Linked DNA regions of Homo sapiens: regions 2, 3, 4, 5, 6 and 7 are each linked to region 1. Evidence: promoter capture Hi-C in 16 types of primary human blood cells and fetal thymus (Javierre and others, 2016). All regions are on one chromosome and are shown on one strand. The core of a region is centred on a gene start or on the middle of the fragment in contact, and the rest is flanking DNA. Distances in the headings are between cores, read along the strand shown. Region 1 holds the start of NOS2 (nitric oxide synthase 2). Region 2 has its middle 10 kb from the start of TMEM97. Region 3 has its middle 27 kb from the start of TMEM97. Region 4 has its middle 44 kb from the start of TMEM97. Region 5 overlaps LOC105371710 (a long non-coding RNA gene). Region 6 overlaps NLK (nemo like kinase). Region 7 overlaps NLK (nemo like kinase).

Region 1 (3,679 bases), core at 466-2,965:
TCAAAACCCTGCCCTGGTGTCCTCTCCCTTGTAAACTTTCCTTGAACAAGGCAGAACCAGCTACATCAGCACCATACCATCCCTCCATCACTACAGATATCACTCTGTACTATAATTATCCATTTATTTTTCTAGGCCTTGCACTCCCTAAGGCCAGGATTCTGACTCTTTCCCTGAGTGCTGTTTACCTGAACTGAACCGGCATGAACCACCACGCCCGGCCATCTTGTCACTTTCTAAAATGCATTGCTCTTCGTGGCAGATGCTCCATAAGCCAGAGCTCTAAGCCGCAGCATTGAGCCGCAGCATTGAGCTGAAGCCTGAAGGGAAGATGGCTTTGATATGTTAAAACTCATTCCAGTTTACTCCTATTTTTCATTCATTCATCCACACATTCACTCAACAAAGATCCTTGAGCTCTGATATCCATGTCTTTTTTGTGGCTCTTAGTTTATCTTTGACAAAGTTAATATATTATGCTGAATTTAACTTGGGAAAGACAAGAAGGAAATGAGTGGACAGTGGTAGCAAAGTGTTGGGACGGTGAGATCAAGGGTGACTTTTTTTCCCTTTGCTTCTCAACTTCTCCCTAATGTAGTTGTTATTTTACTTTTATGATGGAAAAATGCATATGTATGGGAATACTGTATTTCAGGCATTATAAGGAATGAAATTATAGGCCGGGCATGGTGGCTAACCCTTGTAATCCTAGCACTTTGAGAGGCTGAAGTGGGCAGATCACTTGAGCTTCAGAGTTCGAGACCAGCATGGACAACATGGTGAAACCCAGTCTCTACCAAAAACACAAAAATATTAGCTGGGTGTGGTGGTGCATGCCTGTAGTCCCAGCTACTCAGGAGGCTGAGGTGGGAGGATCGCTTGAGCCTGGGAGGCAGAAGTTGCAATGAGCAGAGATCGTGCCACTCCGCTCCAGTCTTGGTGACAGAATGAGACTCCATCTCAAAAATAAATAAATAAATAAAATAAATGAAATGAAATTATAAGAAATTACCACTTTTTCATGTAAGAAGTGATCATTTCCATTATAAGGGAAGGAATTTAATCCTACCTGCCATTCCACCAAAGCTTACCTAGTGCTAAAGGATGAGGTGTTAGTAAGACCAACATCTCAGAGGCCTCTCTGTGCCAATAGCCTTCCTTCCTTTCCCTTCCAAAAACCTCAAGTGACTAGTTCAGAGGCCTGTCTGGAATAATGGCATCATCTAATATCACTGGCCTTCTGGAACCTGGGCATTTTCCAGTGTGTTCCATACTGTCAATATTCCCCCAGCTTCCTGGACTCCTGTCACAAGCTGGAAAAGTGAGAGGATGGACAGGGATTAACCAGAGAGCTCCCTGCTGAGGAAAAAATCTCCCAGATGCTGAAAGTGAGGCCATGTGGCTTGGCCAAATAAAACCTGGCTCCGTGGTGCCTCTATCTTAGCAGCCACCCTGCTGATGAACTGCCACCTTGGACTTGGGACCAGAAAGAGGTGGGTTGGGTGAAGAGGCACCACACAGAGTGATGTAACAGCAAGATCAGGTCACCCACAGGCCCTGGCAGTCACAGTCATAAATTAGCTAACTGTACACAAGCTGGGGACACTCCCTTTGGAAACCAAAAAAAAAAAAAAAAAAAAGAGACCTTTATGCAAAAACAACTCTCTGGATGGCATGGGGTGAGTATAAATACTTCTTGGCTGCCAGTGTGTTCATAACTTTGTAGCGAGTCGAAAACTGAGGCTCCGGCCGCAGAGAACTCAGCCTCATTCCTGCTTTAAAATCTCTCGGCCACCTTTGATGAGGGGACTGGGCAGTTCTAGACAGTCCCGAAGTTCTCAAGGCACAGGTCTCTTCCTGGTTTGACTGTCCTTACCCCGGGGAGGCAGTGCAGCCAGCTGCAAGGTGAGTTGCCTTCATTTCTGGGGAAGCGGCTGTTTTGAGAGGGTTTTGTTTCTTCCTCTTTGAGAAGGCTCAGAAAATTGTGGGAATTTTCTGCCTACAGAGAGAAGGTGTTGGAAAGTCTAGGTAAAAAAATGCCGACATGAGGTTTGGTCATTTGAACATGGCATCTTGGTCAGATTTCTTTTCTGCAAATATTAGCTGTGGTTGTTACATGACAAGGAAAAACTTTCTGAAAAGTTCAAAATGGGAGTTTGTATCTGCTAAGAATTTTTTTTAACAGAGATTATCTTATCAGTCCTTATAACATGTAACCTCCCCACAAATCCTGGTAAGATGGATATATTAAACCCATTTTATGGATGAATAAATGAGTTTCAGTTAAATAACTTGATCCAGGACACATAACTGGTAGAGCTAGGATTCCAGGATTTGAACCCAGGTCTATGGGGCTATAAGTTCTTTTCTTTCTTTCCCTCTTTCCTTCCTTTCCTTCCTGTCCTTTCCTCCCTTCCCCTCCCTTCCCTTCCCTTTCTTTCTTTTTTTTTTTTGGAAACAGCCTTGACTGCCCAGCCTCAAGCAATCCTTCTGCCTCAGCCTCCCGAGTAGCTGGGACTACAGGCACAAGACACCATGCCTGCCTGGCTAATTTTTCAATTTTTTGTAGTCAAGGTCTCCCTATGTTGCCCAGGCTGAACTCGAACTCTTGGACTCAAGCGATCCTCCTGCCTCGGTCTCCCGAAATGCTGGGATTACAGGCGTGAGCCACTGCACTTGGCCTAAAATTCTTACATGGACTATATTCACTACACTGTCTTCTAAAGACAGAGTTTTTGCCTCTTTGATCTTCCTCTTGTCTGTTTCAAAGGAGATGATCTCAGATTTCGAGGGATGAGTGCATTTTTCACAAATATTTCCTCCCCACATAATAAAAGAGGAGCAAGTAATAATGCTGAGTTAGAACAACAACTGCAAAATCTTTAAAAGAAAGGTAGCTACAGCTTGAGTGCTTTCCCCAGTAATAGACCTAAAACTACAGTTGATAATGAGAGCTGCTGGGAAGTGTCTTTCAGGGTCAGGCAAAGGCACCCCTGTTTCAACGACCTCCGGGCTCTTCCTCACCCTGCCTGTGGCCAGTGATGAAGCCTGGCTGGGTCTGGTGGGCCAGCAGGTCCCGCTAAGGAGGCTCATGGTGCATACAGTTTGTCCTTGTTAAGTGGCGATGGGGATGGGGGGGTTCATTGTTTTTCCTTAAGATTATTAGGTGGCTTTACAGAATTGAAGTCTGTGTCCGAAGGCTCCCCATTCCAACCCCGAAATAGAGACAGAGGTTGCAAAGCATTGATGAAGGGGCTCATGCTGGCGTTCATATCGATTCCCCAGTGAGCCAACCCCACTGAGAAGCCCTGTTCTGTAAACTCTTCTTCAACCTTCCCTCACCTCTGCTTCCCTTCTTCAGCCCCACAGTGAAGAACATCTGAGCTCAAATCCAGATAAGTGACATAAGTGACCTGCTTTGTAAAGCCATAGAGATGGCCTGTCCTTGGAAATTTCTGTTCAAGACCAAATTCCACCAGTATGCAATGAATGGGGAAAAAGACATCAACAACAATGTGGAGAAAGCCCCCTGTGCCACCTCCAGGTGAGTTTTCCCTGGGGGAACCTCCTGCTTGTCTCCTTGGGCACCCATGCCCTGTCGGCACCGATGACTCAGAATTCCTCTCTCTGCTCCTCCTCTCTCACCTGAGGTCTGATCTCCTCATTGCTTCTTGAAAGT
Region 2 (3,679 bases), core at 432-2,931, 510 kb before region 1:
AAAGATTTTCTTCTGTATTTTTCTTTTAGAATATTTCATTTTCAGTTTTACATTTAGGTCTGTAGCGCATTTTAAGTTAATTTTTTATTATGATTCAAAGTATGGATTGAGGCTCTTTTTTTGTTTTGCATATGGACACCGAGTTCTAGTGTCGTTTATTGAAAACACTATCATTTCTCTGTTGAATTCTCTTTGTACTTTTGTTGAAGATTAATCATAGATGTGTGGGTCTTTTTTTGGACTAAAACTCTAAAACTATATTATTAATCCTGATTTGTATTGCATCTGACAGATCCAGAATGATTTGAAAAGTTAATTAGCTAACAAATTTAGAAGTTTGTTAAGTGTCTTATTTGGAACCTGGCATTTGCTGACAGTAGTTTGTAATCTACAGAAGGGTTTTCTAAAATAACTTTAAGCCTAAGATTAAAAGAAGATTTTGCTAATGACTCATTATCTGTTTGGAAAAACTTGTGTGATTTTTCATGCAGTAGGGATGAGCTGAAATGGTTTTTCCTAGAAGATGCCCATTTTCTTTTTTGTAGAATTACTTGGTAGTTCTCTAATAATCTGTTTGTGCTTTATATCATCTTTGATAGTGATACATTTGGGGGCAGTTCTCTTTTTGTTTAAAAACCATCACGTAGTTGTCCTAAGTTAAATATTCTAGGCCAGACTTGATGGCTTATATCTGTAATCCCAGAATTTTGAGAGGCAGAGGCAGGAGGATCACTTGAGCCCAGGAGTTTGAGACCATCTGGGCAACAGAGTGAGACCGCTCTACAAAAATCAAAAACAGGTCGGGTGCGGTGGCTCAGGCCTGTAATCCCAGCACTCTGTGAGGCTGAGGTGGGCGGATCACCTGAGATCAAGAGTTTGAGACAAGCCTGGCCAAAAAAAAAAAAAAAAAAAAAGAGAAAAGAAAAAAAAGTAGTTGGCTGTGGTGGCGCATGCCTGTGATCCCAGTTACTCAGGAGGCTGAGGCAGGAGAGTTGCTTGAACCCAGTTGGTGGAGGATGCAGTGAGCCGAGATCGCGCCACTGCACTCCAGCCTGGGTGATGGAGCAAGACTCCATCTCAAAAAAAAAAAAAAAAAAAAATCAAGAACATATCCAGGCATGGTGGTACATTCCTGTTGTCCTAGCTGAGGTGGAAGGATTGCTTGAGCCCAGGAGTTCAAGGTTACAGTAAGCTATGATGGCCCCACTGCACTCCAGCCTGGGTAGCAGAGAGAGACTCTGTCTCTAAACAAACTAAAGGTTTAATTACTTTTTAAAAAGTAGTACACAATTATTGTTTTTAGGATGGATTTTTTTTTTTGACAGACTCTTGGTTTGCCACCTAGGCCTGAGTGCAGTGGCTTCATCAGCTCACTGCAGTCTTGAACCCCTGGGCTGAAGTGAGGCAGGAGCCTCAGCCTCCCGAGTAGCTAGGACTATAGGACTAGGAATACAGGCACATGCCACCACACCCAGCTAATTTTTTTGTAGAGACAAGGTCTCGCTATGTTGCCCAAGCTGAAGTCCAACTTCCTGGCCTCCAGCAATGAATGCTCCCACTTCGGCCTCCCAAAGTGCTAGAATTACAGGCGTGAGCCACTGTGCCTCGTCTATTCTTTTATCATTAAATTGTATAGACCTGTAGAGTGAAAGAATTGATATTCGGCTGTACATTGGTGTTCTATAATATAATAAGGTTTGAGCTAATCTCAGTATTTGAATATTTATTATTTAGTAATTTAGAAGTACTTTGCAATTAACACCTTTAAATTAACTTAAAATTTTAAATGTAGTAGAAATTAAAATGCCAAGAAGCAGGTGTTATTTAAAAAAAATCATTGGACAAAATATTGAGGTTAATTTAAGACAGACTTTCAGGATTAATAGCTATTTTAAATTTTTTAAAAATCATTTGTTGATGAGTGCTTTTTCTTATTCCTGAAATAACTACTCATAAGTCCTTTTTTATTTTTTTATTTTTAATTTTTATTTTTTTTTGGTCTTTGGAAAACATACTCCTGTCCCTTGCTATTCCATTTTTCTCCTTTTTTCCCCCTTTCTTCATTTGGATAGACTTTGCCATACAATTTTATTTTTATTATTTTTATGTGGTAAAATACACGTAATAAAATTTATCACTTTAACTGTTTTAAAGTATATAATTCAAGCCACGTGTAGTGGAGCCCGTAGTTCCGGCTAGTCAGGAGGCTGAGCCTGGGATCCTTGAGCCCAGGAGTTTGAAGACAGCCTGGGCAACATAGCGAGACCCCCTTCTCTTAAAGCAAAAGTATATAGTTTAGTGGCATTAAGTACATTAACAATATTGTATGACCATCACCACCACCATCTTGTTCTAGAACTTGTTCATCATTGCCACTTAATGTTAGCACCTAATTGTTCCCTAGTGTTTGGCTGCCATATTAAGTATTAGGTTTGTAAAGGATAAACAAGACTTAGTTCTTGTCCTCGAGGACTTCAGAGTCTAGTGAGAGAAACTTAACATTTATGATACAATGTGGCAAATTACATGCTAGAGTTCCCCATCACTGAATTTTATTTATTCAATTAGAATTTTTTTATATATTTACCAATGCATATATTTAATGAATCAGGCATACAATGCTCACCCATTCAGCAATTTCAGTGCTTTTCCTGTTTGCCTTGAAAATTTCATCCAGGAATTCACAAAGGAATACTCGATGAAGCCACATCATCAAATGGATTTTTCCCCAGGGAAGTCCAGTTTTTTTCCTTTTTTTTTTTATTATACTTTAAGTTCTGGGGTACATGTGCAATTCCTCAATTAGAATTTTAATTTTACCTTGAGAAAGCAAAGTAACTTTTTGTTAATATTCCGGTTATCGTATCATTCCACACACTGAATTCATTTAGGCTAGACCAAAAGACTGAAGTCTTTAGTCTTTTGACTTAGGTCATTGTGGGACTCACAAATCCTCATGCCCTATACTGTATTGCAAGAAGGGAACCAGAAAATTGACATTTTGATTTAGAACCAAATTATGAGCTATTCCTTCCTAATGAAGCAGGGAGATCTGTGAAAACTATGATTAGAGAGAACTTCTTAGTTGTCTGCAACTATCATTTGTTGAAACTGTTTTTACTTATTTTAGTTGCAGTGACAACTTGCTTATGATCAAATACAGTATTATATGGGTATGTTTATCTCTCTAGGCAGATCATCTTGATGAATAGTTGCTTTGGAAACTGTCAAGAGATTGTTTTTAATTTCTTGAAAAGCCTGGGAGTGCATTTTACAAACCTCTTGTAAGACAGAAAAGTTCTCTAAGTCCCCACTCGACCCAGGAAGGATTTTCTTCATTATTAAAAATTTAATGCAATATTGCTTATAAAAGTAAAACAGCGTGGCTTTTTCCATCTATAGAAGGGCTAAATATGGCAAATATTTTCTATTAAAAGGTTGGGGTGGAGTTGAGAGAAGCTTTTTCATATTATATACACAGGCCTTCTATAAACGGCCAGTAAATCTTCCCAAAGGGTGGTGGGCATTTCCAACGGGCCAAACATGGCCTGTCATTCTACTATTTCTCTCTTCCAGCAGCAAGGTCTAGTAGCACTAAGACCAACCGCCCGATGGCCGCTAACTGTTCTACCGGTCGTCGTTCGGAACTCCGTTCTCCTTCTAGGCCAGTTAAGGCCTT
Region 3 (3,679 bases), core at 656-3,155, 490 kb before region 1:
TACTTTGAGTGATCCAAAATTATTATCAATTTTTGTTTTTAAGGAGATTTTAGGCAGGGTGCTGTGGCTCATGCCTGTAATCTCAGCACTTTGGGAGGCTGAGGCAGGAGGATCACCTGAGCTCAGTGAGACCAGCCTAGGCAACATAGTGAGACCCCATCTCTGTCTTCTCTTATGCCCCCCCCCAAAATTAGTTGGGCATGGTGGTGCATGCCCGTGGTCCGAGTTACTCAGGAGGCTTGAGGTGGGAGGATTGCTTGAGCCCGGAAGGTCGAAGCTGCCGTGAGCCATTATTGCACCACTGGGCTCCAGCCTGCGTGACAGAGTGAGACCCTGTCTCAAAAAAAAGGAAATAAAAAAGAAGAACAGTTTAGAATTTTGGTTCTCTTTAAGCTTTGACCTTCTTGAAAAGAGGAATAGGTTTTCTCTATATTTTACCTCCATCTCCATGGTAACAGGTATATATAGTAAGTACTCAATAACACATAAATCTATTCATTTAAAAATACAAGGGAAATTTAAAGCTCATTTGAAGTTTTTTTTTCTTTTTAATTGTTAAAAAATACGTAACATAGCCAGGTGCAGTGGCTAGCACCTGTAATCCCAGCACTTTGGGAAGCTGAGACAGAAGGATTACTTGAGGCCAGGAGTTGAGACCAGCCTGGGCAATATAGCAAGACCCCATCTCTACAAAAAAAATTAAATTGGCTGGGCTTGGTGGCACACACATGAAGTCCCAGCTACTAGGGAGGTTGAGGTGGGAGGATCACTTGAGCCCAGGAGTTGAGGGATGCAGTGAGCTATGATTGGGCCATTGCACTCCAGCCTGGGTGACAGAGCGAGACCCTGTCTCTGCTTAAAAAAAAAAAAGAATTCCCCCTTTCCAAAACATATAGCATAAAATTTACCATCTTAACCATTTTTAAGTGTACAGTTCTGTATGTTAAGTATATTCACATGTTGGTGTGAAGTCCATCTGTTTTAAATGGTTAGTGTCTTTATTCTCCAAAAAGAATGGAGCCTTATTCTGTTTCCAACATTAAGAATTGAGTTTGTTTCATAACTGGCTGTTTATTTCCTAGTGTCAGATTCAACAGTGTGCAGGCATTGTGCTGGTTTCTCTCACGTATCTCCTTCTGTAGCACCCACATAATTTTACCTAGAATATATCCACATTTATGGCATATTGAAACAAGTTATGACAGATTTCTTTAACTGTACTAAACCTTTGCTATAAATAACCACTCAAGAAAGCCCTGTCACTCTGGTGTAAACAGTCATGCCTTCTTGTTTTTTTTGTTTTTGTTTTTGTTTGTTTTGTTTGAGATGGAGTCTCACTCTGTCACCCAGACTGGAGTGCAATGACGCGATCTCGGCTCACTGCAGCCTCCGCCTCCCAGGTTCAAGCGATTCTCCCACCTCTGCCTCCCAAGTAGCCAGGACTATAGGTGGCGTGCTAACACATCCGGCTAATTTTTGTATTTTTAGTAGAGATGGAGTTTCACTATGTTGGCCAGGCTGGTCCCGAACTCCTGACCTCGTGATCCGCCCATCTTGGCCTCCCAAAGTGCTGGGATTGCAGGCTTGAGCCACCGCACCCAGCCGCCTTCTTGGTATTTTATAGACTAGGCATTGCATGTAATTTCTGGGCTTATGCTTTTGTAAGCTCTTTGCATTGACTAGTTTATTGTCAACTTGCCTTTTTATTTGAGTTTAGGACTCTAACATATCTAACACGCAACCATCCACTAAAATTTTAAGCCTGGTCTCTTTGGGCTTTCTTTATCAAAGGCTTAAAAATTATCTTGACCCATGCAAGGCTTTTGCCAACAAAAGTTGCAGTCCTTGAGGCTCCAATGCCAATATCTTGTCACTGGATAGATGGGAGAATAGGGCGTGCAGACTCTGAAGTGAAGTTATCTGTGGCAGGATACAAATTGAACTTTGTAAACTGAGTTTATTTTTGTACTTCTATTTTCATATTCATGTTTTGTTCTCCCTTAGTATTTGCTAAAATATTTCAGAAGTTTTAAAAAAATTATCATATGTGGCAGATAAGTGATTGTTAGTATTAAAAAATAAAAGACCTGCAGAAAATATATGTTGACAAGATATCTGAAGGAAACAACACAAAGAAAGCACAACTGATGAGAAATATTATGAACAATTATTTATTGTAGAAGCAGAAGATGTGTTTAATTCAGAGTAAAGCAAGAGTGAATGATAGTTGTATTTTGTAGCAGTTGGACTAGATTCAGTTCTGGAAATTGTTTTATAACCTTTTGGCAGTTTTGAAATGAAATGTAGTTCAACATTTTTATTTTTCTGTGAAATACATTTAGTCAGTAGGTGTAGCCCAGTAGGTGTAGACTTACATTGTCTAAGAACTGTTTGATGATTTGGCTGAGTCTTTGGTCACAGACAAAAGTTTAGCCCCTGGGAAAAATAAGTGGGATCTGATATTATTTCATATCTCACCCTGTCTAGAAGTTTCGATCAGTACATTTAGACAACCAACAAATATTTACTGACCTAACACTACATTCTAGTTATACCAGCTGTAAATACTGTATGACAAGGAGAGAGTAGATAAGATGGTTCCTGACCTTCAGGTTTATTTTCCAGTCTCCCAAGCCTTATTTGTTTAAACTGCTGTAGACCTTTGAAGTTTCCTTAAAGCCAAGGATGTTTTCTACTTCTGTGTACTCCTTTCATGCTTAGAATTAAGTATGTGATTGGTCTGAATATTTAATTGAAAAATCGTTTCAACCTCCTTGTGAGTAGGAAGTCTCATTAATTTTTGCATAAAAGTACTTGGTGCAGGATATAAAAGCAGAGTGCTAATATTTGGAAATATGAGATCTGGGTTTGAGTTTGGCACTACCAATTCCTATAAGTAAAGGGACAAGGTACCACCACTGAATTATTTTCCTCAGCAATAAATGGAAATTAAAATCTCTACCCATCTTCTTAAAGAGTAGTTATGAAGACAAAGTAAGTGAACTCACATTATACAAACTGTAAAAGTGCCATATAAATGCTTATTATTAATACCTATTGTATAGTACATAGTTATTTTAACTGAATTAGAGATAATCCATCCTTAGGTCTTCCAAGTCTAACAACAGTACTAGTTAATATGCTTTGTATGTGATAGATGTTGGACTTCAGGATCTGTGCTTTTAATGTTATATGTGTTTTAGGACCCCTAAATTCCTAATTTTGGTGTTGGTTTCACTAATTCTGAGCTCACTAGTCATCTCTACTTCTGAGTCTAACTTCTAAAAAATCATCTAAAAAGAGCTTCAGTTACTCAGTAGTGGTGTTGGGACAACTGAATAACAACCCAGAATTTAAATAACTGGATCCCCATTGTCATTCCTTACCCCAGATAGATTCCAGATGAATAAAAGCTTTAAATGTAAAAAATGAAATCATAAAATTATTAGGATGAACAATGGTGGAATTATCTTAAAAATAATATTTGAATAAGAAAAACTTTTCTAAGCTTAACCCAAAACTTAGAAGCCATAAGACATGGACAAATATGCCTAGTATTCCATTATTGGAATGCTAAGCATCTGGGAGTTATTCGTGTCCTACTGTTCAAGGTCATTGCCAAGGTCTGATTGCAAAAATTTAAAAAATTGCAACCTCAGGCATAAATGGGTTAAGAAAA
Region 4 (3,679 bases), core at 641-3,140, 470 kb before region 1:
GAATGGGAGTCATCCAGAATGAGAAGGAAACCATGCAAAGCCTCAACGACCACCTGGCCTCCTACCTGGACAGAGTTAGGAGCCTGGATACCAAGAACTGGAAGCTGGAGAGCCAGGAGCACCTGGAGAAGAAGGGACCCCAGGTCAGAGACTGGAGCCATGACTTCAAGACCATCGAGAACCTGAGGGCTCAGATCTTTGCAAATACTGTGGACAGTGCCCACATTGTTCTGCAGATCGACAATGCCTGTCTTGCTGGTGATGACTTTAGGGTCAAGTATGAGACAGAGCTGGCCATGTGCCAGTCTGTGGAGAGTGACATCCATGGGCTCCACAAGGTCATTGATGACACCAATGTCACTTGGCTGCAGCTGGAAGCAGAGATCAAGGCTCTCAAGGAGAAGCTGCTCTTCATGAAGAAGAACCATGAAGAGGAAGTAAAGGGCCTATAAGCCCAGATTGCCAGCTCTGGGTTGACTGTGGAGGTAGATGCCCCCAAATCTCATGACCTTGCCAAAATCTTGGCAGACATTGGGCCCAATATGACGAGCTGGCTCCGAAGAACTTAGAGGAGCTGGGCAAGTACTGGTCTCCGCAGATTGAGGAGAGCACCGCAGTTGTCACCACGCAGTCTGCCGAGGTTGGAGCTGCTGAGATGACGCTCACGGAGCTGAGACATACAGTCCAGTCCTTGGAGATCGACCTGGACTCCATGAGCAATCTGAAGGCCAGCTTGGAGAACAGCCTGAGGGAGGTGGAGGCCTGTTACACCCTGCGGACGGAGCAGCTCAACAGGATCCTGCTGCACTTGGAGTCAGAGCTGGCACAGACCCGGGCAGAGGGACAGCACTAGGCCCAGGAGTATGAGGCCCTGCTGAACATCAAGGTCAAGCTGGAGGCTGAGATCGCCACCTACCACCGCCTGCTGGAAGACAGTGAGGACTTCAATCTTTCAATCTTGGTGATGCCCTGGACAGCAGCAACTCCATGCAAACCATCCAAAAGACTACCACCTGCCGGATATTGGATGGCAAAGTGGTGTCTGAGACCAGTGATGCCAAAGTTCTGATACCTTAAGCCAGCAGAAGCAGGGGACCCTTTGGGGAGCAGGAGGCCAATAAAAAGTTCAGAGGTTAAAAAAAAAGAAAAAAAAAGAAAAAATATTGGCATTGTTATGGCATTAACAGCTATATATATGTACTTTTTTCAAAACAACATTTATAGCATAACTTGAATTTTCTATTTATTAGTATATACATTTTTCTTCTTTTGAAATGTGTATTTTCTAGTTTATTGGATATTGAAAACAATCTTTGATTTATCATTGTAATTTAAGTTCACTGTCTCTTTTCCAGCAATTATTCTTTTTTCTCTTTTGTGCAGTAGTAGAAAACAAAATCCAAGCAAGCATAGACCGGCAAGATATTCAGCTGTCTGGAAGTCTGGAGATTTTGTCCAGCAAGAAGCCCCCTAACAAAAGGCAGAATGCCAAACTGAGTGCTGACCTCTGACATGGCTCTGATACCCCAGGCCCATTAAGAGAGCCTTTTCTCCCAGCGGGGAGGTGATAGAATATTCTGAATTTTCTGTTGAAAAACTAAGACTATATGCAAAGAAAAATTCCCCCCAACGGGTGCAATTCTATCTGGATGATGCCGTCTCAAAATAAATAGCCTGTGAGGTTTGTGGCTTAGAAGACTTGTGACCCCATACCTCTTTGTGTCGTTTTGAAATTTTGCCTCCAGTTCTGTTTCTCTGACAAGACCCATGGCCACCTGCAGCCTAATGCTGCCATGAAGCTTTGTTCTGCTCTTTGGTTGCTGCTGGGTTCTTCTTGGATTGAAAAGAAAAATCACTTCAATCAGTCCATCTATAATGAAATACTGATCTAATGTTTGATACTCCACCATGAAATTAAAATGAAACCGCCCTTGCCACCTCCACCCCCAGCGCCTGTTTCCGAAAGTTTTATGAAGCTTCGTGGATGCTTTACCTCAAAGATGCCCTTGGGCTTCCTCCAGGAGAATGAAGAGGTCAGTGAACCTGCTTCCTGTCCCCTGTTCCCTGTCATGCATTCAGAATCAGAGAGCAGCAGATTCTGAAGTCAAGCTGCCAGAATCTCATGCGCTACCATCTCACCTTAACCACAGGCTACTTCTTTACTTTCAACATCACTGATCAAAATCAGATTTCATGGTGGGTGGGGGATAGTGGGGGGGTGGTGTAGGGAGAAGTAAGGAAATGCTGTCTTTTGTCAGTACAAAATCTGGCCCCCTCAGACTCTGCTGCCCTGAGTTAAATTTAATCTCTCTTTCCATCAATTCCAGTCAGGTTGAGCAGTTAAAGTATGATGTCTATCAACTGCAGACTGCTCTCAGAAACTTCCAGCACCAGTGCTATGCAAGGGAGCAGCAGGAGAGACAGCGAGAAGAGCTTCTGTCTCGAACCTTCACTGCTAACATAAGCCAGGCTTGCGGTGGGGGTCGGCCTGCACTTGACAGATTGTGGGGGCTGGAGTTCAGATCTCTGAGCGTCATCTTTTTTAGGGGGTATCTGAAAAAGATTGATGAGGAGGAAACCAACCCTAAATGACAGGGACTTTGTGCATTGCCACAGAGACTAGACCTAGACAGAAGAATCTCTTTTTCTAACACAAAAACCTGAAGAAGAAGCAGTTAAATTGAAGGGGAATAGGCAGAAGTGAAAATAACCTGGTTGGACTGGTCTGAGACAGAAAGGTGGAAATTCACATGGTGGAAACGTTTTTCTGATCAGATAGAGACAGATGGTTAGAATTTAGGCCATTTGTAGAGAAGGCAGCATTTCAAAGCTGCCTGCGCAGTTGCCATTGTGCCGAGTTTGTGTGTGGTTCCGGTGTCAGGTGCATTAAAATGTTTTTGTCCCTAGTCTGAGCAGCGATTTGAAGGAATTTGTTAATAGATATTTAGGGTTAGATGGACTGCTTGCCTGAGTGTGTCCGAAAGTGTGTTGGTTTCCACATTTGATTTCTCAGAACCCATTGTCCCCGTCTTTTAGTCTTAACCAGACCATTTCCTGAACGTGGCTGTAGAACATATTGGCCTTTTCTGTGTCATGCATAATATATTCCACCAAGTGTAGTGTGCTTTGGCTTTTTGTGTGTTTTTTTTTAGAGGTTTATTTTCCAGAGATGTTAACTTTCTAAGCCTGTTGTTAGAATTCACATCATTTCCCACTTTGCAGATGTTTAATCCTCAGTGCTTCATCCTTGCTTTGCAATACATTTCCCCAAGTGTTTCAAAATGTGCCTATGTAGTTTTTGCTTCTCCAGAGTAAAAAATCAAGTCACAGTGGTTTTTTGTTTGTTTGTTTTTGTTTTTTGAGACAGAGTCTCGCTCTGTCACCCAGGCTGGAGTGCAATGGTGCGATCTCAGCTCACTGCAACCTCTGCCTCCTTGGTTCAAGTGATTCTCCTGCCTCAGCCTCCCTAGTAGCTGGGATTACAGGTGCCTGCCACCAGGCCCGGATAATTTTTGTATTTTTAGTAGAGACAGCATTTCCCCATGTTGGCAAGGCTGGTCTCAAGCTTCTGACCTCAGGTGATCTGCTCGCCTCGCCCTCCCAAAGTACTGGGATTACAGGCATGAGCCACCACGCCTGGCCAAGTCACAGTGTTTAACAATTCAAAAATTTAATGAAC
Region 5 (3,679 bases), core at 750-3,249, 420 kb before region 1:
GGGTGCGCCCTTCTTCCTCCTTCCACCCGCACCAGATCCTTGAGCTTACGCTCAGCCACTGTGTGACGTCTCCACCTCATAGGAGCTCAGGGGGCAGCTGCCATGCTCAGATTTGGGGTCCCACTGGATGGGGTACCTAGCCTGAACCCTGTGTTCAGCCCACAGCCCCGCAGGGGCAGGTCCAGCCTCCTGAGGAAGTGAAGTGGTTGGATTAGACTCCTGGGGCAGCCCCTAGGACCAGGAATGAGATTCTGTCTTCCCTAGCCAGTCCATGGTGGGAGTGGGGGGTGGGAGGGTAGACACATTTCTTCCAGCCTGTGGGATCTGTGACCACTCTTTCCAAAACACAACTCTTTTCAGCCTCTGCTCAGTAATACCTTGGAGAAGGGCTGAGGAGTGACAGGACCTCTGGGGGAAAGTCTTTCTCCTGGAGGCAGGGGTGGGAGCACCTGACCTTGGGCTCCTGGCCTGCAGTTTATGATATCCTGGGGGAGAGGCCTCTCTGAACACTCCGTTATGTTCTCTCTCCATTAAAGAGTTGGGAAAAGAGGCAGGAGGAGGCAGAAGCCAGTCCCCCAACCAGAAGCAGCTGAGTCAGCTACCTGTGTATCCAGCCTGGCACACAAAGACCCTGGTCCAGCCATGTGTGGCATAGAGCCCTCTCCCCAGGCAATGTCCCCACCCCTATGCAGGTGTCAATCAGGGCACTGGTGTCTTCTGGGCCTGAGTGATGCCAAGCCTTCCCAAGCACATGCCACTGTCCCCAGCCCATGGCAGTCTCCACTGGGCTCTGAAGCCCAGATCCTTTGAAGGAAAGGACTCATGTTTATTAAGCACCTACTGTGCACCGGGTAGTACATAATTTCGGACATCACAAAACAATGAGCTGAGTTTATCTCCATTTTCCAGATGAGGAAATTGAAGCCCTGATGAAGCAGCCAAAGTCACCCATGATTCAAACAGGAAAAGGAGGGTGAGGCAGACCCCAGGAAGAGGACCTCTCAATTGTGAGGGGCAGAAAGCCTCAGCACCTGGAGTAGCCATGTGGTGCCGGAGGCAGGCCTGGGAGCAGGGACCGGAAGCCTAAGTCTGGGGCCCACCACCCACTATGAGAGGCTGAGTAGGGGAAGGGCCTCCAGAATGCCAACCCCCTCAAACCCACCTGCCCAGTAGGAGAGAGGGCTGTGGGAAGGTCTCTCCATAAAGCCCTTCCAGCTTCCTCTCCCTGGCCTGGCCAGACCTCCAGTACTTCCAGATGTCCCATCAACCCATGGGGGCTGAAGGGGCCAACTTGTCCAGGCCGCTGGTTCTGAGCCAGCCCCTCCAGCCCCAGGACAGATGGCTGTGGGTGCTATTTTTAGAGCTCTCCTGAGAGGGAGAGTTCAGGGCTCTCTCAGTCACTCTTTTTTTTTTTTTTTTTTAAATTTATTTTTTTATTGATAATTCTTGGGTGTTTCTCACAGAGGGGGATTTGGCAGGGTCATGGGACAATAGTGGAGGGAAGGTCAGCAGATAAACAAGTGAACAAAGGTCTCTGGTTTTCCTAGGCAGAGGACCCTGCGGCCTTCCGCAGTGTTTGTGTCCCTGATTACTTGAGATTAGGGAGTGGTGATGACTCTTAACGAGCATGCTGCCTTCAAGCATCTGTTTAACAAAGCACATCTTGCACCACCCTTAATCCTTTTAACCCTGAGTGGACACAGCACATGTTTCAGAGAGCACAGGGTTGGGGGTAAGGTCACAGATCAACAGGATCCCAAGGCAGAGGAATTTTTCTTAGTGCAGAACAAAATGAAAAGTCTCCCATGTCTACTTCTTTCTACACAGACAGGGCAACCATCCGATTTCTCAATCTTTTCCCCACCTTTCCCGCCTTTCCATTCCACAAAGCCGCCATTGTCATCCTGGCCCGTTCTCAATGAGCTGTTGGGCACACCTCCCAGACGGGGTGGTGGCCGGGCAGAGGGGCTCCTCACTTCCCAGTAGGGGCGGCCGGGCAGAGGCGCCCCTCACCTCCCGGATGGGGCGGCTGGCCGGGCAGGGGGGCTGACCCCCCCACCTCCCTCCCGGACGGGGCGGCTGGCCGGGCGGGGGGCTGACGCCCCCACCTCCCTCCCGGATGGGGCGGCTGGCCGGGCAGAGGGGCTCCTCACTTCCCAGTAGGGGCGGCCGGGCAGAGGCGCCCCTCACCTCCCGGACGGGGCGGCTGGCCGGGCAGGGGGGCTGACCGCCCCCAACTCCCTCCCGGACGGGGCGGCTGGCCGGGCGGGGGGCTGACCCCCCCACCTCCCTCCTGGACGGAGCGGCTGGCCGGGCGGGGGGCCGACACCCCCACCTCCCTCCCGGGCGGGGCGGCTGGCCAGGCGGGGGGCCGACCCCCCCACCTCCCTCCCGGAAGGGGCGGCTGGCCGGGCGGGGGGCGGACCCCCCCACCTCCCTCCCGGATGGGGCGGCTGGCCGGGCAGAGGGGCTCCTCACTTCCCAGTAGGGGCAGCCGGGCAGAGGCGCCCCTCACCTCCCAGACGGGGCGGCTGGCCGGGCGGAGGGCTGACCCCCCCACCTCCCTCCCGGACAGGGCGGCTGGCCGGGCGGGGGGCTGACCCCCCCACCTCCCTCCCGGACGGGGCGGCTGGCCGGGCAGAGGGGCTCCTCACTTCCCAGTAGGGGCGGCCGGGCAGAGGCGCCCCTCACCTCCCAGACGGGGCGGCTGGCCGGGCGGGGGGCTGACCCCCCCCCACCTCCCTCCCGGACGGGGTGGCTGCTGGGCGGAGACGCTCCTCACTTCCCAGATGGGGTGGCTGCCGGGCGGAGAGGCTCCTCACTTCTCAGACGGGGCAGCTGCCGGGCGGAGGGGCTCCTCACTTCTCAGACGGGGTGGTTGCCAGGCAGAGGGTCTCCTCACTTCTCAGACGGGGCGGCCGGGCAGAGACGCTCGTCACCTCCCAGACGGGGTCTCGGCCGGGCAGAGGCGCTCCTCACATCCCAGATGGGGCGGCGGGGCAGAGGCGCTCCCCACATCTCAGACAATGGGCGGCGGGGCAGAGACGCTCCTCACTTCCTAGATGTGACGGCGGCTGGGAAGAGGCGCTCCTCACTTCCTAGATGGGATGGCGGCCGGGCGGAGATGCTCCTCACTTTCCAGACTGGGCAGCCAGGCAGAGGGGCTCCTCACATCCCAGACGATGGGCGGCCAGGCAGAGACACTCCTCACTTCCCAGACGGGGTGGCGGCCGGGCAGAGGCTGCAATCTCGGCACTTTGGGAGGCCAAGGCAGGCGGCTGGGAGGTGTAGGTTGTAGTGAGCCGAGATCACGCCACTGCACTCCAGCCTGGGCACCATTGAGCACTGAGTGAACGAGACTCCGTCTGCAATCCCGGCACCTCGGGAGGCCGAGGTTGGCGGATCACTCGCGGTTAGGGGCTGGAGACCGGCCCGGCCAACACAGCGAAACCCCGTCTCCACCAAAACCAGTCAGGCGTGGCGGCGCGTGCCTGCAATCGCAGGCACTCGGCAGGCTGAGGCAGGAGAATCAGGCAGGGAGGTTGCAGTGAGCCGAGATGGCAGCAGTACAGTCCAGCTTCGGCCCCGCATGAGAGGGAGACCGTGGGGAGACGGAGAGGGAGACGGAGAGGGAGACGGAGAGGGAGAGGGAGAGGGAGAGGGAGAGGGAGAGCAACAA
Region 6 (3,679 bases), core at 764-3,263, 380 kb before region 1:
CTTGGATCCAAATCTAAATAGAAATAGAGAATAAAATATTTCTAACACATAAATTTCAATCCTAGACCCTTTATAAAATCCTCTATGGTCAGACAGAAATTACCTCTGAAGCCTGAATTTCACACAGCTCTAGTTTTGTTAACCATATAAAAGGAGTTTGTTTTTTAACATATTGATCAACATCTTCTGTTAGTTATGTAGATAAACTTACCAAATAACACAAAATATCAAATGATAGTAAATCACTAGCTCAATAAAGCAAGTTATATGATTGAAATTGTCCTTAATAGTGGGAACTTGATCACAAAGAGAGACTGTGGGAGCAAGAACTGCCACTTTGTCAGGCTTATAGTATCACTAAGCACTTCACATACCACATGGTATGGTTTGGCTGTGTCCCCACCCAAATCTCATCTTGAATTCCCACATGCTACGGGAGGGACCTAGGAGGTAACTGAATGATGGGGGCAGGTCTTTCCTGTGCTGTTCTCGTGATAGTGAATAAGTCTCATGAGATCTGACCAGATTAAAAAGGGGTGTTTCCCTGCACAAGCTCTCTCTCTTTGCCTGCTGCCATCCATATAGACATGACTTGCTCCTCCTCACCTCCCGCCATGATTGTGAGGCTTCCCCAGCCATGTGGAACTTTAAGGTTTAAGTCCAATTAAACCTCTTTCTTTTGTAAATTGCCCAGTCTTGGGTATGTCTTTATCAGCAGTGTAAAAACAGACTAATACACCACAGTAAAAAAACAAAAAAGAAAACAACAGCAAAAAACACCAAAATAAACACATAAGCAATCTAAATTGTACCCTGAGACATTACAAAAATAATTTGGGTCACCCTAATTGGTTCTGGTCCCCCAAATAAAAAAACCTTGACTGTTTCTCACAAACCTGAACTCCTTAACAGAATTATTTTTATCCCTAATCTTTGCTGTGCTGATGTCTGAAGCTTTGTGAATTTGATATCTTCTGAGAAAGTTGCAGCTTTCTCACTACAAATGGACCAATGTAAACTTAATAACTTTGGTAATTTTGTGGTTGTTTTATCTTTTAAATATCTGGTATTTTTCGTATTTGGTGACTTTGTATTCTTGGCAAGTTAAATTTTCTTTACTAAATGCTTCCATTTTTAAGTCTTCTTTGACAATAGTTATTGGCATAGATGTGAATAATAAATATTCTTTGGATGAATGAATAAATGAAGAGCTGAACTTACAGTATAATTTGTAGTATGTTCCAGAAGAGTCAAGTCCAGAAAGGGTATTGGGAAAAGCTTCCATCTCAACAACACAGAGCAAACATTTCCTTATGCAATATAATGGTCAGATTTTTTTTTCAAATAACCTTAAAAAACTTTGTGTCCTGGCCGGGCGCGGTGGCTCACATCTGTAATCCCAGCACTTTGCGGGGCTGAGGCAAAAGGATCACTTGACTCCAGGAGTTCAAACCAGCCTGGGCAATATAGTGAGACCTCTTCTCTACAAAATATTTAGAAATTAGCTGAGCATGCTTGTAGTCCCAGATACTCAGGGGGCTCGGGTAGGAGGATTGCTTGGGCCTGGGAGGTTGAGGGTACAGTGAGCTGAGATCACACCTCTGCACTCCAGCCTGGGTGACAGAGCAAGACCTTGTCTCAAAACAAAAAATCATTTTGTCTTGACTTAACTTGGTGTCAAACTCCTTTTACAAATAATGAGATAAATAAGAAATAAGAGTTAAATAAGATCCAGCTCCTTATCTCTTCCCTTAGACTCTTATGTGTTAATAATCAAACTTCTGTGTGATGAGCGTGCATGATACACATGATACTGGGGATTGAAGTTTATATTCTGAAAAGTAATTATTTACATTGCCAATCTATTCAAAACCACAATGTTTCTCTCGAACACATGTATTTGTAATTCATTAAAAATATATAAAAAAAAACACTACTTACTGGATCAAAGACCAACATCCTGCAAAGGAGATGAACAGCTTCATGTGTAGCCTGGCTAGACAGGGTATAGAGTACAGGAAGAGATGGCTGTGAAAAAATTAAAAATTCAAATATTTAAGTGAGTCTTTGTGTAAACAGCTATGGAATACAGCCAATTTATGATAAGGTAAGTACTCAGTTCAAAAGGCAATGTGTGTCTAAACTCAAGGAGAATGAGTTTTCCCTTCAGTAACCAGTCTTCAAAAGCAACAATTGTTACTAACTTCCCGTAGCATTTTTATTTATTTATTTATTTACTTATTTTTATTTTTATTTTTTGATATGGATTCTCGCTCTCTCACCCAGGCTAGGGTGCAGTGGCGCCATCTTGGTTCACTGCAACCTCCGCCTTCCAGGTTCAAGTGATTCTTCTGTGGTCATCCTCCCGAGTAGCTGGGATTACAGGCATGTGCCATCACGCTTGGGTAATTTTGTATTTTTAGTAGAGAAGGGGTTTTGCCATGTTGGCCAGGCTGGTCTCGAACCCCTGACCTCAAGTGATCTGCCTGCCTCGGCCTCCCAAAGTGCTGGGATTACAGGCGTGAGCCACCACGTCCATCCCCGTAGATTTTTACATTGCATGATTACCCACTGTAGGGGAAAGCACAAAAGAGTCTATAAAAAAATGAAAACGAATTGCAAATATGGCACTCCTGCTAGCCATCTTTTTTTTTAAAGAGGAGAAAAGGCATACACATTTATTTATCGTGCGTACACGGGAGGCTTCCAAATAAAGCCCCAAACCCCCAATGAGGTACAGAAGCTTGAGTTTATAGAAACAATGTGGGATCAGAGCATGGCCAAAAATGGGTTTTAGTTAGCCTTACATCTTAAATGCTTTGGCAAGAATGATAATCAAACATGCCTAGGGGTGGGAGAGAAAAGATTGAAAGGTTTTAAAACCTGGGCCACATGCAAAGCATGTAAACTATAAGAATGTGAACTATGTCTTATGACATTACCATAAAGGTGCTGAGATATTAGTCCTAAAGGAGCCAAAGGACATGCAAGAACTTACAGAACCTGTAAGAAAGTACACCATTGGTTTTGATGGTTCAATCTGAATGGCCTTTAGCATTGATTTCTCACTCAAGAATTGCCTTCATAAGTGGTAGGCATATCCACATGGCCATATCTGACTTCTGTGAAGCAGGGAGGTGGCTTTAATGACCTGAGAAGCCATAGAGCTTATAAAGCTTCCATTTCACTGCTAGAAGCGTCAGGGGACAGAGCAGGTAAATGGCATCATTGCTCTGTCTCTCACACAAGTAAATTATTTATCTCTAACATAAAAAAGGCAGAATTAAGGAAGGTGACAAAAAATGTTTAGAGACTCCTTTTCTTCCCATGCTTAATACAACCTTTAGCAGAGAATTTTTTCCTCAAGCTTTGAAAGTTCTAGACTTATGGCCAAATTATTATCGGCTTGACTTTCATACCACTTAAAAAAAAACAAAAAACTAATCTCTTAGTGGGGTAAATGATTTTCCTAATGGGTTTTAGACCTGCCGTCTACTTATAACCTTTCTGTGGTCAGAAAGTTTGGTAGGTCAAAGCATATGAGAATCAACTCAAATAACAATAAAGTCACAGGCTAAGGCTGGGTGCGGTGGCTTACGTTTGTAATCCCAGCACTTTGGGAGGCCGAGGCAGAAGGACTGCTTGAGCCTGTGAGTTTGAGACCAGCCTGGGAAACATT
Region 7 (3,679 bases), core at 425-2,924, 360 kb before region 1:
GTCTCGCTCTGTAACCTAGGCAGGAGTGTGGTGGTATGATCACAGCTCACTGAAGCCTCGACCTTCCTGGCTCAAGCCATGCTCCCATCTCAGCCTCCTGAGAAGTGGGAACTACGGGCATGTACCACCATATCCGGCTAATGGGCTGAGTCTTTTTTGGATAAAATGTAGCAAATCACATTTTTCACAAGTACAAAAAGAGCCAATATCTTCCCCATTTTCCCCTACCATAGAATATGAACAAATCTTAGAGGTGAACGTTTTTGTTTTTTTTGAGACGGAGTCTCACTCTGTTGCCCAGGATGGAGTGCAGTGACGCGATCTTGGCTCCCTGCAGCCTCCACCTCCTGGGTTCACTCGATTCTCCTGCCTCAGCCTCCCAAGTAGCTGAGACTACAGGCGAGTGCCACCATGCCCAGCTAAGTTTTGTATTTTTTTAAAGTAGAGATGGAGTTTTGCCATGTTGGCCAGGCTGGTCTTGAATTCCTGACCTCAGATGATCTGCCCGCCTCAGCATCCCAAAGCGCTGGGATTACAGGCATGAATCACCATGCCTGGCCTGGAGGTGAGTTTTTTAGTTTTAATATTGCTTATGTGGCTGGGCGCAGTGGCTCACGCCTGTAATCCCAGCACTTTGGGAGGCCGAGGCAGGAGGATCACAAGGTCGGGAGATCAAGATCATCCTGGCTAATACGGTGAAACCCTGCCTCTACTAAAAATACAAAAAATTAGCTGGGCGTGGTGGCGGGCACCTGTAGTCCCAGCTACTTGGGAGGCTGAGGCAGGAGAATGGCGTGAACCTGGGAGGCGAATCTTGCAGTGAGCTGAGATCGCACCACTGCACTCTAGCCTAGGCGACAGAGCAAGACTCTGTCTGAAAAAAAAATTGCTTATGTGTTTTCATCCTTTTGGCATTTATTTTTCAATCTCTATAAAGAATCTCTTAATTCTATGAATTCTGGGGCAGGGGGAAAGTATTTTGCTTACTAGGTAAGAAAGCTGTTTCAGGTTTAAGCAATTCTCTACTTGTAATGGCAAAATTCTCATGGACATACTTGATGGCCAGAAGAAGTGTCAATAATGTTGGCCCAAATCCTTTCTCAGTCAAGTCTGTGCTCTTTAATGAGCTGTCTAGAATTTAGCTGGCTCTGTTTATTGGTCTTCCCAATCTACTTTGGTTTTAAGGGTCATTTTGTTTCTCTGGAGTTGGCTTCAGGTATGCCAGCCAATACTCAGACAGGCCCACCTACTGTTGGCTTGCAGGATGGACGTCATCCATAGGGGATATAGTCACTTTTCACTTTAGTCGTCTGATGCCACATATTCCTATTCCGTTGAAAACTAAAGGCTGTTTTGTGAACTTGTGACAAACCATCCTGCTTATTCACCTAGATTAGCCCACTCAACTGCCTAATGAATTTGACAGGGCTTTCTCTTTCATCACTGAAAACAAGAACTATTTGGCAACCCTAAAAAGCTTCCTCTTTAACATTAAATATAGAAATTATAAAATATGCTTTGGTCAAAAGAAAAAAGTCTTTAGAGAAGAAGAAAACCTTGGAAGATCGGATTAAAGTCTAAATGAGAAGCAAAACATTTCATTTACAGTGTGACAGCACCTTTTTCTTCATAAAGAAATCTTACCTCGCAAAATCTGATAAAGAAAAACTTTGACATGATCTGAGCTGAGTGGTTGAGGAGAGACGATAATTTTATGTAGGTCACTCTGCATCAATTCTGTGACAACATATCTTGAAGTTTTAAGTTAAGGAGAGTTCGGCGAATTCAGTCCCCTACCCCCTCAAAGTGGTGACCAGATCTAAAAAATAACTTCCATTCTCAAGGCTGGAAAAGTGGGGAAAGAAAGCTTCTAGACAGCGTGACAGAGGTGAGAATTCCAGCCCTCACAAAACACTACTAAAATCAAAAGAACTTACATGTTTAAAAGTCAGCAGAAGTAAACGACCAAATGATTTCCTTATAATCAGCATTATCAAAGAGAAAACCAAAGGTAAACATTTTAAATAACAGCCAGGCCAGGAAAAGTATGACGACCAAACAGTCTTAAGCTCTACTTAGACATATTACAGGAATGTCCTTTGAATCCAAACAAATGGGGATTGGTGATCTCATCTTAGGCCACCATGACACCAATGGAAAAGATCACAACCTATCCAAGGGCTGTGGCTTGTTACATTATAAAATATGGTATTCCTAAACACATGTAAAATAATTAGTTAAGTCTCTCCACAATCTTAGTAATTTAGTTCCTTTATTATTTAACTTTGTATATATTTATGAAACACCCCTCCCCACCATCACCACTAGATTTCGAGCGAGCTTCCTATACGTTGTACTCTGTTGTATGTTTAGGGTTTTGCTGAATGGACACATGGCCGATGATTAAAGGCTGGAGCCTGGGGAGCCATGGAGATATGCAATTCAAGACTCTTGTGAAGCACGTGTTAGATACATTAGGGAAGCAAAAGTATGGTAAATCTTATAATTTAAGTATTAAGTTTTCTTAAGGCAATTTCTAATTTAATGTTTTAGCAAAAACAAGTAGGAAAGGGGATAACTTGGGAACAGGGAGGAGAACTGATAATAACAGCCTTTGACAAAACAACTAAAAATTGTTTTTCAATTGTTTTCAAACTCCCTCCTCCTCGAGACATTTTTTCCAAATCGCTTTAGTCTCCTTCAATCATTGTACGTTGAAATGCCCCATGGCTGCTGGTCCTCACTCCTCTTCCCTATCCACACTCGTGGATACTCGGATCCAGTGCCATGCCTTTAAATAACATCCATGCTGCAGACTGCCAAATTTCTCTCTCTAGTTAATCTTTCCTTAAGTGCAGACTGGTATATCAAACTGCCTACCTATTTCCCCTGGATACCTAATTGACATTTCAAACTAACAAGTCCAAAACTGTCCAAATCTTTCTTAGTTGCTTGCACCACAAACCACATCAAGGAGTTATCCTTTACTCCCCGTTTCTCTTTCACCATACCTCCAATTCATCAGAAATCCTTCAAAATTTAGTCAGAATTAAGGCCACTTCTTATATCCACTGTTACTACTCTGGCCCAAGACTGCTAGATTTCTAAAACAGCAGCCAGGATAATTTTTTTTACTGTTATATTTTTTATTTTGCCTATATACTGACATTTACTTTATTATATAGAAAATATAATTTTTAAGCCTTTTACATTCTTAGATATTTTAATCTTAGGTTTTATCACTCAGATTCTTTCCAAAGAAATATATTCTACTTCATAATGAAAGTTAATGAGAAAATGATATTTGGCATGTGGGATTCACTTACAGGACAGTTTTCAGTGACATGTTAAAATTATTCTATAAAATGATGAAGAGTTAAATAATGACATCAGGGTTATAGTTTTTAATAGTTTTTATTCAACTTTTTCTTATTTTTCAAACACAGAAAATTACGCAGAGATGACCCATATACACACTTACCACCTAGAATCTACACTGAATATTTTGCTATATTTGCTTTGTCACACATCTATCCATTGCTCTTTCCATCCATCAATTCATCCAAAACTGGATGCATTTCACAGAATGATCTTTTAGGATGAAGGCCAAATTATGTCACTTTTCTGCAAAAGCTTTCCATTTCATTTAAGAGTAAAAGCCAGTCCTTAAAATGGTCTC

What was found. Contacts are between HindIII fragments. The CHiCAGO score rates a contact against its expected background, and 5 or more counts as called.
Region 2: a fragment that was not itself captured here is called in contact with the fragment with the promoter of NOS2 in region 1 in 6 of 17 cell types (erythroblasts, M0 macrophages, endothelial precursors and 3 more); the score reaches 8.8 in erythroblasts.
Region 3: a fragment that was not itself captured here is called in contact with the fragment with the promoter of NOS2 in region 1 in 6 of 17 cell types (erythroblasts, endothelial precursors, M2 macrophages and 3 more); the score reaches 9.2 in erythroblasts.
Region 4: a fragment that was not itself captured here is called in contact with the fragment with the promoter of NOS2 in region 1 in 9 of 17 cell types (erythroblasts, M0 macrophages, megakaryocytes and 6 more); the score reaches 13.2 in erythroblasts.
Region 5: a contact is called between a fragment that was not itself captured here and the fragment with the promoter of NOS2 in region 1, in 2 of 17 cell types (M0 macrophages and endothelial precursors). The highest score is 5.6, in M0 macrophages.
Region 6: a contact is called between a fragment that was not itself captured here and the fragment with the promoter of NOS2 in region 1, in 2 of 17 cell types (endothelial precursors and megakaryocytes). The highest score is 5.9, in endothelial precursors.
Region 7: a contact is called between a fragment that was not itself captured here and the fragment with the promoter of NOS2 in region 1, in 1 of 17 cell types (total CD8 T cells). The highest score is 6.5, in total CD8 T cells.

What each region holds. Positions count from the first base shown.
Region 1 is chr17:27,798,565-27,802,243 of GRCh38, reverse strand. It overlaps NOS2 (nitric oxide synthase 2), which reads left to right and starts at 1,715. Exons shown (of 27, transcript NM_000625.4): 1 at 1,715-1,905; 2 at 3,362-3,544. The coding sequence starts at 3,435. RefSeq lists a cis regulatory region at 1,178-1,200, an enhancer at 1,513-1,541 and promoters at 1-1,751, 1,510-1,802, 685-1,802, 1-1,882. The HindIII fragment of the contact is 2,695 bases long and covers 1,089-3,679 here.
Region 2 is chr17:28,307,371-28,311,049 of GRCh38, reverse strand. It overlaps the pseudogene KRT18P55. Among named protein-coding and RNA genes, the nearest start is that of TMEM97, 10 kb to the left of the region's middle. The HindIII fragment of the contact is 3,560 bases long and covers 1-3,461 here.
Region 3 is chr17:28,290,845-28,294,523 of GRCh38, reverse strand. It overlaps the pseudogene KRT18P55. Among named protein-coding and RNA genes, the nearest start is that of TMEM97, 27 kb to the left of the region's middle. The HindIII fragment of the contact is 3,020 bases long and covers 396-3,415 here.
Region 4 is chr17:28,273,442-28,277,120 of GRCh38, reverse strand. It overlaps the pseudogene KRT18P55. Among named protein-coding and RNA genes, the nearest start is that of TMEM97, 44 kb to the left of the region's middle. The HindIII fragment of the contact is 177 bases long and covers 1,802-1,978 here.
Region 5 is chr17:28,223,032-28,226,710 of GRCh38, reverse strand. The region is part of intron 1 of LOC105371710 (a long non-coding RNA gene); the gene reads left to right. It also overlaps the pseudogene PYY2. Among named protein-coding and RNA genes, the nearest start is that of TMEM97, 94 kb to the left of the region's middle. RefSeq lists an enhancer at 1-539. The HindIII fragment of the contact is 7,934 bases long and covers 1-3,679 here.
Region 6 is chr17:28,183,528-28,187,206 of GRCh38, reverse strand. It overlaps NLK (nemo like kinase), which reads right to left. Exons shown (of 11, transcript NM_016231.5): 8 at 1,942-2,028. Among named protein-coding and RNA genes, the nearest start is that of TMEM97, 130 kb to the left of the region's middle. The HindIII fragment of the contact is 1,465 bases long and covers 1,281-2,745 here.
Region 7 is chr17:28,159,232-28,162,910 of GRCh38, reverse strand. It overlaps NLK (nemo like kinase), which reads right to left. Exons shown (of 11, transcript NM_016231.5): 4 at 1,645-1,751. Among named protein-coding and RNA genes, the nearest start is that of NLK, 120 kb to the right of the region's middle. The HindIII fragment of the contact is 390 bases long and covers 1,480-1,869 here.